5 separate regions of the Homo sapiens genome follow, and regions 2, 3, 4 and 5 are each linked to region 1. The links are contacts of gene promoters, found by promoter capture Hi-C in blood cells and fetal thymus (Javierre and others, 2016). All regions are on one chromosome and are shown on one strand. The core of a region is centred on a gene start or on the middle of the fragment in contact, and the rest is flanking DNA. Distances in the headings are between cores, read along the strand shown.

Region 1 (2,700 bases), core at 179-2,678:
CCCCTCTCTTCCCACCTCCCGTGGTGGCCCAGGTTCCTCAGCAGCGCTTCCCACTCACTGGCCCATTGCAGCCCAAATCTCCGAAGCCAGGCACCCATGGGGGCCACGGGGCATGGGGGAGTGGGGAGGAGTCCTCGGTTGACCCTCATCTCCCTCCCAAACCTGCCACTTGATTCTGGCTCCCTGGGCCAATTGCCCCCAATTCTGCCCCCGCCCCCATCATCCTCTATCTCTTCCTTCCCTAGTGTCCCCTATCTCACTCAAGCTCACCCCATTTCTGCCTGGCTGTCCCCACTCTCCATCCCCAAATCATCATTCAAAACTCTCTGTTCCCCCAGCTCCGGACAGCCCCTGACTCCATGCCTTCTCCCGACTCATCCGCTGTCCCTTGTCCCAGGGGTTCCCCTCCCTCCTAACACACACACACCGGCTCAGGGAGGGAGAGGAAATGGTGCACCAGGAGAGAGAAAAGGCAAAAGGTCATAGGCAGTCGGGTGGGCGGGGAGGAAGGAAAGTGAAAGGTGACAGGAGAGCTGGGAGCTGTCCCGACATGTCCTGGTTTGCCCCTCCCCCAGGGGGGCCTGTTCTCCCGACTCCCCCCAGGCCCCCTTAGACGCTTTTCCAGGGCTCTGCAGAAGGGCACCTGAAGATGGTGGGGGCCGGGGTCAGCGGGCGAGTGAGGCTGGAGACCTCCCCCGGATCCCCCATGCTGGAACAGCGGGGACAGGGGCCTCCTCAAGTTCACTTCTCCTGGGTCCCCTGTTCGTCCCAGCATCCCAAGGCAGTGCTGAGGCCCCGGGGTGGCTGCGGGAGGGGGGCCACACCCCTATATCTCACCTAGCGCAGACCACACGCTTCCAGACACCAGCAGATGGAGGCGGCACCTGCTCCCGTCCCAGGCCGGAGTTTGCAAGCTGCTCGCCGCCCGCGCCCCTCCCTGGGAGCAGCCCGGGACCGCGGTTGGAAAGGAGAAAGCGGAAAGAAAGAAAGAAAAGAAAAAGAGAGAGGGAGAGTGAATCTGGGAGAAAGCGCAGAGGGAAGAGCAGCCAGCGAGTGTCCGGAGCGAGGAGGAGGAGGAGGAGAAGGAGAGGGGGAAGAAGAGGAGGAGGAGGAAGGCTCGGCGCCCCCTCCCTCGCCGCCAACCTGCCGCGGGGCGTGCGGTGCTTGGGACCATGTGCCCGCGCTCGCTCCGGGCCGCCACCCAGCGCCTCCGGTGGCTGCGCGGGCGCCCCAAGTGTTCGTGTGTCTGCGGCGGGTGGGCGTCCGGCTCGCGCTGCCAAGCGCCCCAAGTTGCCGCCGCGCCCCGCAGCGGGGACGCGAAGCCGGCGCGGGGCGGGTGTATTTACCTGCCGCCAAGACCTTCATTATGGGCTGCACTTCAGAGGGCCTTGGAGGAAACCTCAGATGCCGGCAGTTTTCAGAGGTTCATGCTCAAATGGGGAATTTGCCTGATTTATATACTGGAGCCTGTGTTGTAAGACAGAAACAGCTATATTTAGCCGGGATCCCCAGTCCAGGAAGTTGTTTGAGGTGCATCATAGGAAATTATGAATGGAAGAAAGTGAGAGTGAAGGGGGGGGACGAGTGAGGGGGGAGGGTGGGGAGAACAGACTTTTTCCCTCTTCTAAGAATTTGATTGATAAAATTATAATGAAGCCTTCGACAAAACGCCCTGTGGTTTTCCTGCCTGGCTTGTCCCGGGAGTTGTCTGAAGATGGGCATCGCCAGGAGGGGGCCCCTGGCCGAGTCAGCAGGGGTCCCAGCAGTGGGCGCCCCAGACGGCCCTGACTCACCTGGGTTTGGGGAGGTAGCGAGTCTGGACTAGCAGATGGAGACTGGCCCCTGTGCCCCCTGGTTGGGGGGCTTTAGGGGGGCAGTGGGAGGAGGAGGGCTAGGGCTTGGCTGAGAAGGAGGCTCCAGGAGGAGGGGCCGGGGCCGGCGTGGACTTTAGACGGTCATAAAGTGGAACTGAACATGGGCGCTGGAAGCCACCCCAGAGGTAGCCTCCTCCAATCTGCACATTGCCACTGGGCCCCAAGGGGCTCCGAGGGGAACACGTTGCCCAGGGCCCCAGAGGGTCAGGCCTCCAGACACCACCAGTGCACTCGCCCTGCTGACCACTGTACCTGTGAGGCTGGGGAAGGGGCTAGGAAGACATGGGGGTAGGGGTGACTGACTCAGTTCTGTCGGGACACTCTGGGAAGGTGCTTCTGGGAAGGCGGTCCAGCATTTCCATTCTGAAGCAGGACTGAGAGAGGCTTGGCGAAATCGTACCCCAGTTTCCTCCTCCGGGTGCTGATTGATGGTTGGGGAAACTGAGAAGTGGCTGGTCCCTTCCAGACCTGCCTTGGAAGCCCCTTTGAGCCCAGCCTCAGAGAATGATGGAGGTCCCCAAAAAGTGCTTCTAGAGGCTCTAAGGCAGTGTCACATGTTCTGGCGTCTTCTGAGGCCAGGCGATTTGTGAATGAGGAAGGGCAGAAAGGAGCAGTGGGGAGCCGGGCAAAATGAGCACAGGGACACCTCCAAGAAATGCAACAGAAAAGTGAAAATAAATACACCCTATGAGATGCGGGAATGCCGGCCAGACAGCATGGCCACGCGTCTGGGGCCATGCCGTCCCTAAAGCTGCCAGGGGACCCCCAGTACCAGGAGATGATTTAGTCCCCTGTGGCCCCTTCCCAGCCCTTCCGCCTGACCCTG
Region 2 (2,700 bases), core at 1-2,500, 410 kb before region 1:
AGCTATGTAGATAAGGCTCATGAAGCTGTGGCAGCATTTAAAAGAGAGACCTGGCTTGAGGAAGAAGTGATGTCAAGGAAGACCTGAGTTTTTGTCTAAAGCACGGGTACAAATTAAGTAGGCAGGGCTGGGCGCGATGGCTCACGCCTGTAATCCCAGCGCTTTGGGAGGCCAAGGCGGGCGGATCACGAGGCCAGGAGATCGAGACCATCCTGGCTAGCAAGGTGAAACCCCGTCTCTACCGAAAAAAAAAAAAAAAATTAGCAGGGCGTGGTGGTGCATGCCTGTAATCCTAGCTACTCAGGAGGCTGAGGCAGGAGAATCGCTTGAACCCGGGAGGCGGAGGTTGCAGTGGGACGAGATCACGCCACTGCACTCCAGCCTGGGCGACAGAGCAAGACCCCGTCTTGGGGGGAAAAAATAAATTAACTGGACAATCTGAACTTTGAGCTCCAAAAGGACAAACAATAATCATGACTATGTCTGTGCCCACCACTGTATTCCCCTGCCAGGCAGGACAGCAAAAGCCAAAAGCTAAGAAAGGGAGGGGGAGCTCCCTACAAGCACCCAATTGCAATATGGCCTGGGAGCATCCCCGGGGCTACTGCTCCCTCAGCCTCTTTGTCATCATTCCTCTAGTCTCTCAATTAAATACTACTCTCCTCAGAGACCTTCTGATGGCTCTGCCTATAGTATCCACTCTCCCAGTTACTGTCATAGCTTTAATGACCTTGTGCATTTGCTTGTCGTTGACCATCTCCTCCCACTAGACTGTAAGCTCCATGAGGGCAGAAGCCTTGTCTGTCTTGCTTTCTTTGTATCCCCAATGTCTAGATCTGTGTCTGGCACATAGGAAGCACTCCACAAATATTTGCTGAACGAATGAATGAACCCTGAGGAAACTGAAGCCCCGGGTGTGAGGACGTGGGGGGATCGTGGCTGGTCCAACGCCACTCTGGGGCCGAACTTCGAACCCGTGGCTCCTGACCCTGGCGGCCAAGTCTCGAGAGGCGGCTCACAACCCCTCAGGTAGCGTAAGCGTGGGCCCCGCAATGGAGGCCAGAGGATGGGAGAGCCAAGGCTGCCCAAGGCATAGCCGCGGCTCCTCCGGGGTCCCTTGCCCTGCATCTGGCAGGGACCAGCCACGCACTCACCTCGGCGGCTCCACCACCGGCTCTGTGCCGCCGCCGCCGCCGCCGCCGCCGACCACGGTGACAGCTCCCTGAGCGCCCGCACTTCCGGGGTCAAACTGCGATTCCGCAGGAGCAGACAGGAAGTCTCGGCCTGGCCCCGCCCCCAGAGCCGAGCAAACTACCGCCGGGAAGCCGGACCCGGGTTGCGCCTCTCTTCTTAAGACTCCGCCCCACACTCGGCGTCTGTAGCCACGCCCCCTTCCCCTCCTATCTCCCTTCCTGCTTAAGCAGAGAATAGGTCAGCTGAGGGCGGGCTGTGTGATTACACCTCTCGGGAAATCCAAGTATGGCACCTGAGAGGACGTCTCGGAATCCCAGGCTTCCACCTTCTGCCCGACCTCCTTAGTCACCGTTTTACATATTTAATCCAGAAGAGAAATTTTAACAAGTCAAAAGCACGAACATAATGTTAAGCAGATGTACAAGTACAGACTGCGATTTCATTTACGGGAAATTCTAGAACAGACAGAACTCATGAGTAGTGATGGTGTTAAAATTGGTGGTTTCCTCTGGGGCTGTGGGCTGGGAGGGGCCACAAGTGAGGCTGGGGTCACCCCCTGTCTTCATCTCGGTGGTAGCCATGTAGATGTGTTCACTTTGGAAAATTCATCAAATTGTACGCTTAAGATTTGTGCATTTTTCTGTATGTATGCAATACAGTTTTGTTCTGTTTTGTTTAAGGAAGTTACAAGTATAGCTATCCTAAGAGAAGGATGCAATTTTTTCTACAGAATGTCTCAGGTAATGTAGGTTTAGTGGTTCCTAAGCCTGACTATGGATCAGAATCATCACAGAAAACTTGTTAAGAACACACATTCCTGGCTTCATCTCAGTGCCTGGTACACAGTAAGAATTCAAAACCAACCACCATCATTATTGGGGTGTTATAGAAGCCCCCGAATGGAGAACACAACCCCACCCTGGGATTGTGAAATATTTCCCAGGACACTCCTGCCAACCCCTGCTATCTGCACTAGGGCTACAAGGAATGCTTAGTTCAGTGCCTGTCTTCAAGGGGCTTACAGGATAGGAAGTGCAAGAAAACCAATAGCAATGAGTCAGTGTGATGAATGCAGGGTGCTAAGGAAATAGGAGAGATGGGCTGTAAACCAGAAATGAGATGAGAGGGGCTGGATATTATATTAGTTTTGTATTGCTGCATAACATATTACCACAAACTTATAACAACACACTGCTTGCCACTTATAACAAACACATTTATTTATTTATTTATTTTGAGACAGAGTCTCACTCTGTCACCAGGCTGGAGTGCAGTGGTGTGATCTTGGCTCACTGTAACCTCTGCCTCCCGGAGGTTACAGTGGGTTCAAGCGATTCTCCTGCCTCAGCCTCCCAAGTAGGCAGGACTACAGGCATGAGCCACCAGGCCCAGCTAATTTTTGTATTTTTAGTAGAGACGGAGTTTCACCATGTTGGCCAGGATGGTCTCGATCTCTTGACGTCGTGATCCGCCTGCCTCAGCCTTCCAAAGTGCTGGGGTTACAGG
Region 3 (2,700 bases), core at 139-2,638, 480 kb before region 1:
CAGCACTTTGGGAGGCCAAGATGGGAGGATCACCTGAAGTCAGGAGTTTGAGACTAGCCTGGCCAACATGGTGAAACCCTGTCTCTACTAAAAAAAAAAATTAGCCAGGCATGGTGGCAGGCGCCTGTAATCCCAGCCACTCGGGAGGCTGAAGCAGGAGAATCACTTGAACCCGGGAGGCGGAGGTTGCAGTAAGCCGAGATAGCACCACTACACTCCAGTCTGGACGACAGACCGAGACTCCATCTCAAATAAATAACCACCCATCTTCCCTCAAATGATCTACTACAATAACTTCCCCCTTGCGGTCCACTCTCCATAGACCAGCCAGGATGATGACATTAAAGTGCACATTAAATCTTGTCGCATTTCTCCTGAAAACCCTTCAATGGCCTCCTAGTGCAACTAGAAAAAGACAAGACTCCTTGGCCAGACGCGGTGGCTCACGCACCTTGGGGGGCGAGGCAGGAAGATTGCTTGAGCCCAGGAGTTGGAGACCAGCCTGGGCAACACAGTGAGACCCTGTCTCTAAAAACAAAAACCAAAGAAAACAAGACTCCGTAAGGTGGGTTCCAAGGCCAGACATGAGCTGACCGGAGTCAACCTCTTCACAGTCCACTCTACTTCTTTCCCTCAAACATCCCAGGACTGTAGCTGCCTCAAGGCCTTTGCACCAACGTTTTCCTGTTCAACTCTACTATTCATTCAGGTCTCTAGTCAAGTGTCACCCCCCAGAGCAGCTACCCAGGGTGCAATGTCACCACCACTGCCTCTCCAGTCAACCAAAGCACTATCTGTTTGCTGTACTGCATCTCCCCACCCGCCCACTCCGTAGATTGAGCGCTCTGTGAGAGCAAGGACTTTGTTCACTGCTGGGTCCCCAGAGCAGGGACCAGAACAGGCGCTGGGAAAACATCTGTTGAATGCCCCAGGTACTCCAAAGCCCTTGCTCTTTTCAATCCCAAGCAGGTTCCAAGTCTCCAGCCTTCCAAACCAGGGTTGCCCGGTGCGAAGCCCAGGGGTGAGAGGAACAGGAAGCAGGGCAGATCCGTCCCTGCCCTTAATCCAGGGTGAAGGGTTTAACCTCCAGGACAAGACTTTTGCCGCAGGCTCCAGCTCCTGGCCTAGACTTGGGGCTGGTGCAGGGGACAAGGCGAAGAGTTGAGCCAGGGTCTCGGGAACCCAGCTGCCCTCGCCCCTCTATCCACACCCTATCCCAAGAAATGGTGCGTCCCGCCGCAGGGCGTACGCACAGAGAAGGAAGTGTTCAAGTCTTCCAGTGCGGAGAAAAGAGACTAGGACTCGCCCCTCGACGTCTCGCGGAAGGTACCTGGCTCCCCGGTGGCTGCAGCTCCGGGCTCCTCCTCCTGCGTCCTCGCGTCGCGTACTGCTTGCTGGGATTCGTAGTCTCGCCTTGGCCATCAGTTCGCCCTTCCCAGAGAGCTTTGGGAATCTAAGCCGGGACTGGGCGGAGGGCGGGGAGAAGGTGATGGCGCGCGAGGGCTTCTGGGAGTTGTAGTTTGACATATTCTAACAGCCAGGAATTCTGGAGAAGAAAAATTGGGTAATAAATCTTATCAGATTATCTGGGCTGTCCTGATATGAACCTTTTGAGTTTTTTTCCTCATTCCCAGGATAGGAATACCTCTGTGGTTCAAAACACGAAGGCTGAGATTCAGAGGAACTACAAATCCCATAAAGTGTTGCACGTCTAGGGCCTTTGGGGAACGAGGTCGGCCCCAGCGCAGGCGCGGTGGCGCGAGTTGGACTGTGAAGAAACATGGCGGCCGCGACGTTGACTTCGAAATTGTACTCCCTGCTGTTCCGCAGGACCTCCACCTTCGCCCTCACCATCATCGTGGGCGTCATGTTCTTCGAGCGCGCCTTCGATCAAGGCGCGGACGCTATCTACGACCACATCAACGAGGGGGTGAGGGCCTGTGCCATCCCTGACCTTGGACCCGCCTGAGGGGTGACAGTGGAGTAGAGGTGGGATGGGACTCAGTATACTTTTACCAGGAAGGGGGTAAGGGGTAAACCGTCGGCGTCTTCTGTCTCGAGTCCGCCGTCTGTCCCCTTGGCTTGATGTGAATTCTAAAACGTTAAGCGAGGTTAATATATTTCATTTTGCAGGGGTTGTAAGTATTGCTGTGTGCCACCCTACATACCCACTTGCCCATTATCAGAAGCAAAAACTAAAGGCTAGTGAGAGCAAAGGACTTACTAGCTGCACAGGAAGCCAGGGGCAAGTCAGGGCCAGAAACGGGACCCCTGTCTCTCAGAGTTTCAAGGGCAGATTTGAGCAGGCGACGGTCGTGAAAAGGACGTTAGACACCTTAGACGCCGTGGCTGAAGTTTCAGACGGCGCTTCTGGTCCCCAAGGCTTCCCACGTAGACAGTTGGTATTAATGGTTGAGAGTGGGGGCTATGAAATCAGAAAGCCTTGGATAGGAACACTGGTCCTTGTCACTTAACTGTGGCATTAAGTTGAGCAAGTTTCTTCTCTGAACTCCGTTTTAACTGTGAGATGGAGATATTAATAGTAACCTGAGCACGATTGTGAGGATTACATGAGATGCAGGCAGGGTGCCACATGCCTGGTAGGTGGTACCACTGAAAAATAATCATTGCTTACATTCCTCAGGAGAAAGTGGAAGCATGAGGTAGGAATCGCAACACATTTTTGACTTTTATGTATCA
Region 4 (2,700 bases), core at 151-2,650, 450 kb before region 1:
GAAAAAGAGGTAGAGAGGAAGAAAAAGGAGCCCAAGCTTGTTCAGGTGGTAGGTGCCACTGGTAGGAGCACACCCATGCATTTGACACATATTTCCTAAGGGCCTAATAGGTTCCAGGACCTGTGCTGGGCCAGGAGACTGAGGAAGAATGAGAGGCATCACCATCCTTTCTGCTACACCTTCGGCTTCTGGTCCATCCCATCCCTGGTTCTGTGCAGTGGGGCAGTTCTTTCATGCTGTGTGGCCTCTGGTTATGTGGCTCCCTGGCAGGGCCAGGCAGAGAAGCATGGCAAGCTCCACCCACCCTAGCTATGCCCTGGAAGAAGACACAGGTAGGGACAGTGAAGCCCGGGCACCTGGGCAGCTTGTCCAGGGAGATGCAACCTTGGCCCCAGACCTCATTTGGAGCCAGAAAGGAAAAAGAAAAATCAGGACCAAAGCCAGCTGGGAAAAGATGCATCAGAGGCCAGAACTTCAGTCAAGCCTGGAAACACAGGCAATGGTGGCTGCAGAGACCCTCTGGAGCAGGTAGCTTCCTCAGCCTCCAAGATGGGAGCAAGCCCTGGGAATATGCAGGTGCCCCTGAAACCTCGCCACCTTTCCCTTCCTCATCTCCTCAAGCCTGTCCTTCAAGGCCCAATTCAAACTGGTCCTTAGCAGGGTGACTCCTGCCTTTGAACTTCTAAAGAGCCTGTGGAAGCAACAGACTCCTACTTTTCCAGGTGAAGAATCAGGGGATCCAGAGAGGCAGAGCAACCCTCTTAAGGTCACACAGCTACTAAGAGCAAAGCCAGGGCCAGACACAGGTCTCCTGATTCAGGTCTGCTTTGCCACTTCCTGGGCTGTGTGACCACAGGCAAGTCCCTTAACCTCGCTAAGTCTCAGTTCCTTCTCTTGGCACCCACTTCCCAGGGCTGATGTGAGAAAGAAATGACATGTCGAAGCAGATCCAGCACTTTCTGGGCTCAACAAAGTGAATCCTGTTTCTTTTACTACAGGACTTTTCAGAGCCTTAATGTGCTCTGCGACTCCCCAAAAGGCAGACCAAGGGCACAGACACTTAAAATAAAATTTTAATTATTATTATTTTTTGAGACAGGGTTTCACTCTTGTTGCCCAGGATGGCGTGCAATGGTGTGATCCTGGCTCACTGCAACCTCCACCTCCCAGGTTCAAATGATTCTCCTGCCTCAGCCTCCCGAGTAACTGAGATTACAGATGCCTGCCACCATGCCCAGCTAGTTTTTTGTATTTTTAGTAGAGATGGGGTTTCACCATGTTGGCCAGGTTGGTTTTGAACTCCTGACCTCAGGTGATCCACCCACCTTGGCCTCCCAAAGTGCAGGGATTACAGCCACCACGCCCAGCCGGCACAGATATTTTTAGAACACATGTTGTCTTCCAGGGCACCATGGAATGGTCCAAAGGGATTAGGGGACCCTGCCTCTTGCCCACTGACTCCTTCACTGGCTATGATATACCTGTAGCACATGTATTGATGTCTCCACAACAGCCATGCTGCACCTCACCCATTCTCCAAACAGACCCTACATTTTCTTTAGGTCTTTCTACCTTTCCGTTTCACCCTGGAGCTCCAGGCCTGCACCCTGTGAGTTGGTTTTCCTGATGAGATATGAGGGGTATTGGAGACTTCTGGGAAAGGTATCCTAGGCTCTAGGAGAGACACAGGAAGACCTGGTCTGGACTATCTCCTGGCACTGTCATGTCTGGAAGCCATAGTAGAAACAGCTGCAGCCCCTCTGCAGCCTCAAAGGAAGTAGCCTGACCACGAAGTGAGGCCCCAAGAGACTGGAAAGATACATTCTGGATGATAGGTCAACCAAGCCTAGACGGCCCTACCTTACACCGCCTTGTCATGCAAGGGAACAGATTTCCTTACTACTTAAGCACTGAGTACAGCCTATCTGATTCAACAACGAACACATTTTAACTCCACTACCATCTGCAGCGTCCTACCTAATTTCTCATGGGATTAGGACATGTGTCCCTGCCGAAGTTCCTGTGTACCCCACCCCAGCACCTCCCACTCTGTCCTTACTTGTTTAATGGTCTTTCTTATGATCATTTGAGGGCAAGGCCGGGTATCCAGCTCACCCTGTTTCCCTGGTGTCTAGCATAGGATCTGGTGCTACTAAATCTCTTAATAAATATTTGCTGAATGAATAAATAATGAACACATGAATGGAGGCTTTGCCTCTTTGCAATCTGCAGCCCCTGGGCTACCCAGCACAGTGAGTCTCTCTGCGTGCCAGCCCAGAGGGCCCCAGGAACAAGGGCACAGTGTTCCAGAAACCTGGCCACCTCAATGCCAGCCACTCTGCTGACCCTGACAGCTGGGACCAGCCCCTTGGCAAATGCTCGTAGGTGACTTATGACCTAGGTGGGGTGAGATGAGACTTTACAATACCATGGGCCCTGGACAAAACCACAGATCAAGGTGAAAGGCCATATCCAGAGATGGCTAATCTCTGTGGGGAACTTACCAATCAGGCTTCCTGGATTGGAGCAGGGGGCCAGGCTTCTCGCCAGCCTGGAGGACCCCTTGTCTGCCCCTTGCCCACCGCTGGAGCTACAGAGGGCCATGCTGGCCTGGAATAGCGGCCACTGATCCAGGATAACATCTTTGGCCTGGGATCTGGGGGTGTTGCAATGTGTATGACTAAGCAGTTTGCAAGTGCT
Region 5 (2,700 bases), core at 41-2,540, 260 kb after region 1:
CAGTGAAACCCCGTCTCTACGAAAAATACAAAAATCAGCTGCGCATGGTGGTAGGTGCCTATAATCCCAGCTACTCGGGAGGCTGAGACAGGAGAATCACTTGAACCTGGGAGGCAGAGGTTGCAGTGAGCTGAGATCATGCCACTGCACTCCAGCCTGGACGACAGAGCTAGACTCCATCTCAAAAAAAAAAAAAAAAAGACATTTGTCAGTATTTGCTGATGGAAATTTGGGAAAAATAAAATGTACAAAAATTCAAGTTGATAAGAAAAATAGGAAGGCCCTAAGAAATAAATGGGCAAAGGATTCAAAGCACCAATTCTTAGGAATGAAAATGCTCAGGGTGTATTTATCAAGTGGATGAATGCCCAATCTCCAGAGTCATCAATGAAATGTGTATTCAAGTAATGAGATGCATTTTTCTCTGAAAAATCAGCAAAAACAAACAACACACACACACAGACACACACACACCTTTTAAGAAAAAACTACAAAATTAGCTGGGTGTGGTGGGGTGAGACTGTAGTCCCAGCTACTCAGATAATAGGCCAGGCACAGTGGCTAACACTTGTGATCCCAGTACTTTGGGAAGATCTCTTGAAGCCAAGAGTTCGAGACCAGTCCAGGCAACATAGTGGGACCTCGTCTCTACAAAAAATTAAAAAACTAGCCAGGCGTGGTGGCATGCTCCTGTAGTCCCAGCTACTTGGGAGGCTGAGGAGGGAGGATCACTTGAGCCCAGAAGGTGGAGGCTGCAGTGAGCTATGATTGTGACACTGCACTCCAGTCTGAGTGACAGAGGGAGACCCTGTCACAAAAAGAAAGAAAATAATAAAGTCAGTTAGAAGTTGGTGAAATGGAGACATTAATACATTGATGGCAGGAATATAAACGAATTCAGCTTTTCTGGAAAACCACTTGACCATACACTTCAGAATCCTGAAATATTTTCCCACTTTGCCCAGTGATAATCCTAACAAAAAATATTTTAAGCTTAAAGTTGTTTGTGTGTTGTTAACAGGAAGATTGGAGACAATTTTAAAGTAAGCTATGGTGCTTAATGTAGTTGATGGAAGGGTTTATAACAACAGTTTGGGAAAGACAGGACCACATAATGCATGCTTTATGCTTCTGGAACATAAAACAAAAACTACTCAGTAAAAGAAAAACTGGATAAGAAAAGAAATTTGGGGCTGGGCCCAGTGGCTCATGCTTGTAATCCCAACACTTTGGGAGGCTGAGGTAGGTGGATTGCTTGAGCCCAGGTGTTGGAAAACAGCCTGGGCAACAAAATGAGACCCCGTCTCTGCAGAAAATCAAAAAATTAGCCAGGTGTGGTGGCACGCACCAGTGGTCCCAGCTACACCAGAGGCTGAGGCAGGAGGATTGCCTGAGCCAGGGAGATCGAGGCTAAAGTGAGCCATGTTTATGCCACTGAACTCCGGCTTTGGCAACAGAGAGGAGATCTTTTCTCAAAAAAAAAAAAAAAAATCTGTTTTAAATAAATTTGCCCCAACTTTTCCCAGTTTCTGAGGAGTGGGAAAAGCCATATTTTGAAATACCAGAGGTAACAAATCACCTCCCAAGAGAAGCTTTTATTTAACTATCACTTACAGGTACTTTCTACTTACCAGGCTGGCTCTAAGGGTTTGTAAATATTATGATAGCTCAGGGCTGTCCAGTGGAAAAATAATACAAGCCACACGGATAACTTTCAATCCTCCAGAGCTGTGTAAAAACTCATTCTAAGCGCCGCACGTGGTGGCTCATGCCTGTAATCCCAACACTCTGGGGGGCCGAGGCAGGCGGATCACAAGGTCAGGGGATCGATCTTGGCCAATATGGTGAAAAATTAGCCGGGCGTGGTAGCACACGCCTGTAGTCCCAGCTACTCTGGAGGCTGAGGCAAGCGAATCACTTGAACCCAGGAGGCAGAGGTTGCAGTGAACCAAGATCGTGCCACTGCACTCCAGCCTGGGTGACAAGAGCAAAACTCCGTCTCAAAAAAAAAAAAATTTATTCTAAGCAGACAGCGGTGGCTTGCACTTGTAATCTCAGTTGCTTGGGAGGCTAAGGTGGGAGGATCACTTGAGGCCAGGAGTTTAAGACCAGCCTAGGCAACAAAGCAAGACCTTGTCTCTAAAAAAACATTTAAAAAAAATTAGCCAGAAAAAATATTCCGGGCATGGTGACATGAACCTGTGGTCCTAGCTACCTGGGAGGCTAAGGCAAGAGGATTGCTTGAGCCCAAGAGTTTAAGTTCGCAGTGAGCTATGATCAGACCGAGAGGTGAAGCCAGCTGAATTTCTGGGTCAGGTAGGGACTTGGAGAACTGTTCTGTCCTATAAGAGGATTGTAAAATGCACCAATCAGCACTCTGTGGCTTGCTAGAGGTTTGTAAAATATGCCAATCAGTGCTCTGTAAAAACGCACCAATCAGCGCTCTGTGGCTAGCTAGAGGTTTGTAAAATGGACCAATCAACGCTCTGTAAAATGGACCAATTGGCACTCAGTAAAATGGACCAATCAGCAGGATGTGGGCGGGGACAAACAAGGGAATAAAAGATGGCCACCCCCTCCCACCCTATCCACACCACCCGCCAGCCAGCAGCGGGAACTTGCTTGGGTCTCCTTCCACAGTGCAGTATCTTTGTTCTTTTGCTCTTCACAGTAAATGTTGCTGCTGCTCACTCTTTGGGT

What was found. Contacts are between HindIII fragments. The CHiCAGO score rates a contact against its expected background, and 5 or more counts as called.
Region 2: the fragment with the promoter of ASCC2 here is called in contact with the fragment with the promoter of LIF in region 1 in 1 of 17 cell types (neutrophils); the score reaches 6.0 in neutrophils.
Region 3: a contact is called between the fragment with the promoter of ZMAT5 here and the fragment with the promoter of LIF in region 1, in 6 of 17 cell types (neutrophils, monocytes, erythroblasts and 3 more). The highest score is 11.1, in neutrophils.
Region 4: a fragment that was not itself captured here is called in contact with the fragment with the promoter of LIF in region 1 in 1 of 17 cell types (M1 macrophages); the score reaches 5.1 in M1 macrophages.
Region 5: a contact is called between a fragment that was not itself captured here and the fragment with the promoter of LIF in region 1, in 1 of 17 cell types (total CD8 T cells). The highest score is 5.9, in total CD8 T cells.

What each region holds. Positions count from the first base shown.
Region 1 is chr22:30,245,331-30,248,030 of GRCh38, forward strand. LIF (LIF interleukin 6 family cytokine) reads right to left here and starts at 1,429. Exons shown (of 3, transcript NM_002309.5): 1 at 1,347-1,429. The coding sequence starts at 1,365. It overlaps LIF-AS2 (LIF antisense RNA 2), which reads left to right and starts at 880. Exons shown (of 1, transcript NR_148946.1): 1 at 880-1,663. The HindIII fragment of the contact is 10,846 bases long and covers 1-2,700 here.
Region 2 is chr22:29,837,024-29,839,723 of GRCh38, forward strand. ASCC2 (activating signal cointegrator 1 complex subunit 2) reads right to left here and starts at 1,251. Exons shown (of 20, transcript NM_032204.5): 1 at 1,155-1,251. RefSeq lists an enhancer at 1,524-1,583. The HindIII fragment of the contact is 11,938 bases long and covers 1-2,700 here.
Region 3 is chr22:29,765,619-29,768,318 of GRCh38, forward strand. ZMAT5 (zinc finger matrin-type 5) reads right to left here and starts at 1,389. Exons shown (of 6, transcript NM_001003692.2): 1 at 1,254-1,389. UQCR10 (ubiquinol-cytochrome c reductase, complex III subunit X) reads left to right here and starts at 1,751. Exons shown (of 2, transcript NM_013387.4): 1 at 1,751-1,930. The coding sequence starts at 1,781. RefSeq lists enhancers at 624-1,273, 1,243-1,472, 1,274-1,923, 1,833-1,882. The HindIII fragment of the contact is 8,045 bases long and covers 1-2,700 here.
Region 4 is chr22:29,796,691-29,799,390 of GRCh38, forward strand. All of the region lies in intron 15 of ASCC2 (activating signal cointegrator 1 complex subunit 2), which reads right to left. Among named protein-coding and RNA genes, the nearest start is that of UQCR10, 31 kb to the left of the region's middle. RefSeq lists enhancers at 1,999-2,499, 2,500-2,700. The HindIII fragment of the contact is 2,733 bases long and covers 35-2,700 here.
Region 5 is chr22:30,509,641-30,512,340 of GRCh38, forward strand. No RefSeq gene overlaps it. Among named protein-coding and RNA genes, the nearest start is that of SEC14L4, 5.3 kb to the left of the region's middle. The HindIII fragment of the contact is 599 bases long and covers 992-1,590 here.